Linked DNA regions of Homo sapiens: region 1 is linked to region 2. The links are contacts of gene promoters, found by promoter capture Hi-C in human tissues and cell types (Jung and others, 2019). All regions are on one chromosome and are shown on one strand. The core of a region is centred on a gene start or on the middle of the fragment in contact, and the rest is flanking DNA. Distances in the headings are between cores, read along the strand shown.

What was found. The method cuts DNA at HindIII sites, captures the fragments that hold promoters and counts their contacts. A contact is called where the count stands out against the background at its distance.
Region 1: a contact is called between a fragment that was not itself captured here and the fragment with the promoter of SLC13A2 in region 2, in 1 of the 25 tissues and cell types used here (hippocampus).

The regions. Positions count from the first base shown.
Region 1 is chr17:28,633,723-28,636,422 of GRCh38, reverse strand. BLTP2 (bridge-like lipid transfer protein family member 2) reads left to right here. Exons shown (of 39, transcript NM_014680.5): 16 at 814-1,906; 17 at 2,337-2,528; 18 at 2,672-2,700. Among named protein-coding and RNA genes, the nearest start is that of BLTP2, 10 kb to the left of the region's middle. The HindIII fragment of the contact is 6,597 bases long and covers 1-2,700 here.
Region 2 is chr17:28,472,333-28,475,032 of GRCh38, reverse strand. SLC13A2 (solute carrier family 13 member 2) reads right to left here and starts at 1,389. Exons shown (of 12, transcript NM_003984.4): 1 at 1,219-1,389. The coding sequence starts at 1,320. The HindIII fragment of the contact is 27,138 bases long and covers 1-2,700 here.

The DNA of each region.
Region 1 (2,700 bases), core at 185-2,684, 160 kb before region 2:
TTATTTTGCTGAAGCCCTCGGCCCATTAAAAGACTGGAAGGAGTCAGAAGATAGAGGCACTGGCAGGTTTTGAGAGGCTTTCCAGTATCTTTATCCTCAGGGTAACAAATGGACATGGGACCCTCTTAGGAGGAGGGTGGGGCGTTAGTTCCTCCTTGTCAGACTTCACCGTCCTTTGGAAACTGAAGAGTTTCCTTTTTAGAGACTAGAACTTGAGAATTTTATGTCCTGGAATTTTACTTTTCTCTGTCCACTTAGCTATTCAGAAGCTGACAAAGACACTACTCTCTCCTTGAGGCATACTTTTACGTAAGTCAGCTGCCATATTGACTTGTGTGCTCAGTACTTTATTATGCTATATTTTGAGAATTAAATTGATGCAATCAACTCATGAAACCTTTTCAAGTTGACTGTTGCAGTGGTTACTAGACAGTGTAGTTGCTGATAGAAAGGTAACTCATAAGCAGAAACATGAAGCCAGATGATTTATTGAGTACCTGCTGTCTATACTGAGTATACTATGGTAGATACCAAAGAATTAAGACACATGGCCCCTATTTTCAGACAATTTAGAATCCAGTTGAAGAGAACTTAAAAAGTATAAGTGCTCTTAAATGTCAGACACTATCAACTGTCAGCTCAGCACATTAGTGCTAACAGGAACAAAGCAAGGCAGTAATTAATGTGATTACTCAGGAACAACTTCTGGGTGGAGATGGTTCTTGAGCCAGGTGTGCATGTGTCATAATCCTTGCCATCTCTACTGTTTTGTGACATGGTAATTGACAGATCCTTTTCTTCTGCTCCCTAAAGGTTCAGTGTGGTGCAGGGCTGACCTTACTTTGGAGCCCCCCAGATCACATGTACCTGTACCAGCATGTCCTGGCCACTCTACAGTGCCGAGACCTACTAAGAGCCACTGTGTTTCCTGAGACTGTACCATCCCTTGCACTAGAGACTTCAGGAACTACTTCTGAGCTAGAAGGCCGTGCCCCTGAGCCATTACCCCCAAAGCGGCTGCTAAACCTAACCCTGGAGGTGAGCACAGCCAAGCTCACAGCTTTTGTAGCTGAGGACAAGTTCATTACCCTGGCTGCAGAGAGTGTGTCACTGAGCCGGCATGGAGGTTCCCTGCAGGCATACTGTCCAGAGCTGGCTGCTGGCTTTGATGGCAATAGTATCTTCAACTTCAAGGAGGTGGAGGTGCAGCTGCTACCTGAGCTGGAAGAGATGATCCTCCACCGGAACCCCTTCCCTGCGCTGCAGACCCTCCGGAACCGTGTTTGGCTCCTCTCTTTCGGCTCAGTCTCGGTGGAGTTTCCTTATCAGTATGACTTTTCTCGAACTCTAGATGAGGCTGTGGGAGTTCAGAAGTGGCTGAAGGGACTACATCAAGGGACTCGTGCTTGGGCCTCTCCAAGCCCTGTCCCACTCCCACCTGATCTACTCTTAAAGGTTGAGCACTTCTCATGGGTTTTCTTGGATGATGTTTTTGAGGTGAAACTTCATGATAACTACGAGCTGATGAAGGATGAAAGTAAGGAGAGTGCCAAAAGACTACAGCTACTGGATGCTAAAGTGGCCGCCCTTCGGAAGCAGCATGGGGAGTTGTTGCCTGCCCGCAAAATTGAGGAGCTCTATGCCTCTTTGGAACGCAAAAACATTGAAATCTACATCCAGCGTTCCCGTCGTCTCTATGGCAACACACCCATGCGCCGGGCACTGCTTACTTGGAGCTTAGCAGGGCTAGAACTGGTAGCTCTGGCAGATGCCTCCTTCCATGGTCCTGAGCATGTGGTAGAACAGGTTCAAGAGCTTGATCCAGGCAGCCCTTTTCCCCCTGAGGGATTAGATCTTGTCATTCAGTGGTGTCGAATGCTCAAGTGCAATGTCAAGAGCTTTCTGGGTAAGTAGTGTTTCCTTTATTTGCAGACCCCGTGTTTGCCCGCTGAGCTCTGGGGAGCTCTCAGTGATTTCAGAGGAACTAGGTTATATTGGGAACTGTGCCGTTTTGGGTGGGTGGAGTGGGATGGGTGGGCTTCCCTTCCCTTTCTTTGTTCCTGAATTTCACCGTGAAATTGCTTGGCTAACATAAAGGGAAAGCTAACACAGTCATCTTTAAGGTTATTGTGTCTCTTGGATCTCAGTGCTATGCCCTTAACCACCTGCTCCAGGGTCACTGTCATTTTTCAGCTTGCTGTGTCAACTGCCTGCCCTTGTTCTCTCAATTGACTTTGTAAATATAGATGGGTAAAATAGTGGTGAGGAAAAAGATAGGCCCGAGAGTGCTCAGACTGCCCCTGAGTAGCCAGTGTGTACCCTTCCTCTGGTAACAGTTCGGATCAGGGACTATCCACGGTACCTGTTTGAGATCCGTGACTGGCGGCTAATGGGTCGACTTGTGGGCACCGAGCAGAGTGGTCAGCCTTGCTCCCGTCGGCGTCAGATCTTGCACTTGGGGCTTCCGTGGGGTAACGTGGCAGTGGAGAGGAACATGCCCCCACTCAAATTCTACCATGACTTTCACTGTGAGTAGAGATGAGGCAGTTGGTTTGGCTGAGGGACGTTTGTGATGGGTGAAATGGGAGGTGAGCTGAGACCCTTCTGGAGTGAAGGAGGAAGAGAGGGGTAATGTTGTGAACAAGTTATAGCCTTTGTTCCTCTACCCCAGCGGAAATATTCCAGTACACAGTGGTGTGG
Region 2 (2,700 bases), core at 140-2,639:
GAAGGTCATCTCAAAGGTCAGCTGGGCCTTGTTACTGACCAGGTGTCAGGGGCCCAGGGGCTGTGCCACTATCACCCCCAGTCTCTCACCCCTTTGGGATACCATGAACAAAAAAGTCTGACTCAATTTCTCTATCTATGACAAAAGGAAGAAAATGGCTTGATGGGCAGTTCTGGGGGTGTGGGGTGGGGCAGGAGGCAGCAGGGTGGAGAGAAGACATGCTTTGGCACCAGATCACACCCCCAGCTCTGAACCTCCCAGCTGTGTGATTTGCCAGAGGCCGACTGACTGAAGATTGAACTTCAAGGCCTTCCCCCTGGACCCTTCCCAAAGCCCCAAACTAATTTCAGATTAATACTTTTGTGTCCTTTTTCTTACAGAGTGGGGCCCAAAAGTGTATAATATCCAAGTTCCATGAAACTTGGATCTGCCCTGGGACTTTGACTAAGTGACTTAACCTCACCTTCCCCATTTGTCAAATGGGACAGTCAGGCCTGACCTCTTAAGATGGTGGAAAAGGTTACTGGGTGCCTAGGGCAGGGCAGGCATTGGCGGCTTGATTTAATGAGAGATGAAGTTATGACTTCTGCTGGGGGCGGAGGAGGAGGCAGTGACGCCTGGTTGTGCCCAGCTCCCCCTCCATCCAGGGCACAGTTTTTGTGCTGTCTACCTGCAGCGGTCCCCTCTTCCAACTCCCACCCCTCCTCCTCCACAGACTTAGCCCTTGAATCCACAGGTGAACTCTTTCTCTTCCTGTTTATGCTCTTAAAGATGCAGACCGCCTGCAGCCAGCTTTCTCCTATTCTCCTTCCAACCCTCTTCACTCTGCTGCTGCTTACCCAGCCGTCCCCTCCCCACAGCCAGCCCATCTCAGCCGCCATGGAGCCCAGTCCAGGGCTAGGTGGGCACACAGTAGGTAGATCAGCTCCATCTGCCCCCCTTGCATCTTGTTGATGGAACTGGTTTCCTGTTTCCTAGGGCAGTAGGTTGCAAACCCACCTAAGTAATTCACGCTGGGCTCCTACAACTGGGTGCCAAGCAAAAGCCCCTTTGACCTCCTAGCCCTCAGTCCTCAGGAGGAGCAGGGGGCGATAGCCTCACTTCCAGGGCAGGGGCAGTGAGGAAGTTATGCTGGATCCTAAGGATGCCCAACCCCGGCCCAGACAGTCCCTCCTCTGCCCCCTGGAGTTATCTGTGCTCAGAACACCAAGTCCTTACCTTACTGGGGACGAGGATGGGCAGAGGCAGCAGGAGAATGGGCACGAAGAACACGATCAGGTAGGAGCGATAGGCCCACAGGGCCTGCCAGCAGGTGGCCATGGTGTGGAGCAGCAAGGGCTGCTACAGCCACTGCCTCCAGGAGCTGGGTAACAGAAGGACCAAAGATGCAGCCAAGCAGGCAGGTGGCAGGCTTATATAAAGCCAGTTGAGTGTTAACCATTGACCCAGTCTGGCAATCAGAGTGTTTTTGGAGTTGGGGAGGTGAGAGTAAGGAGGAGGGACCCACAGGCGGAGTAAAGATCAGGAAGGGAGAGGGAGAAGGAAGGAGGAAAGAACAAGGATTAAAAAACTTCAGGTTCCTTCAAGAAGTTAATCCCAGCGTTAACTCCTTCTGTTCTTGGAGGCTGCTGAGGGTGGTGCTGGAGGAGCTGGAGAAGGAAGGAGAGTCCCCCAGCCACCCTCCACAGGCAGCCCCCAAGCCACCTCCGCTGGCCCGGCCTTTCCTTTCTGCTGTTCTCCAAAGCTAGGTTCTCAGCTGAGCACTTTATGTGACAGCCTGGGTGGGGTGGCCCTGCCCTGCCCACAGAGATGCCCTAGGAATTTTCAGTCTAAGATTGACAGTAGCTAAGGCCTGGAGCAAGTCCTCCTCCTCCTCCTTCCAGGTATCGAGGACCATCAAAGTCCCTGGTCCTGACTACATCTTGTGTGACACTGATCCACCGACTTAACCTCTCAGAATTAGCCACTTCCTTATTCTGCAGTAATATCTTGCTATTGTGAGGCTCAAATTAGACAACTTATATATGTTGAGCTTTGATGCATGGCAGGTGTACGATGAAGGTTAGTTTCTTTCAGGCTCTTCCTAGCCCCCTCGCCCCCCAGCAAAGATTGTCTCTTATTTTGGAAACATACTAGATCTCTCATTTATCCATCATCCATCCATCCATCCATCCATCCATCCAACCATCCATCCATCCATCCCTCCACCAAGCAAGTATTTAGTACCAATTATGTATTCAGCCCTGTGCTCAGTGCTAAAGATACAGAGATTAAAATGCTGCTGCTGCTGCTGGTGGTAAAGACTGACATTTGCTCAGCACTTAGTACAAGTCAGTTACTGTACTTCATCAACTCGGTAACTACACCATGGGTTAGGTGTTACTATTCCATTTAACAGATGGGGGAACTGAGGCCAAAGGACATGGAGCCAGCCAGAATTCACACATGCATTATGGGTATCCTGAGGGAGGTCCAAACCAGGGCAGAAGCTCTGGGTGAAAGGCACCAGGCAAGGGCTCCTGGAAGAGATGGCATCTGAGCGAAGGCTTGAGAGCTCAGTCTTACTTGGCACGAGGTGATAGGGGAAGGGGCACAAGGAGAGGGAAGAGTGAACGAAGGCCTGGAGGGTGGCAAGTGCATGCGTGTGTGTGTGTATGTATGTTGAACGGAGCAAGTTGTAGTTTGGAAGAAATTGTGGGT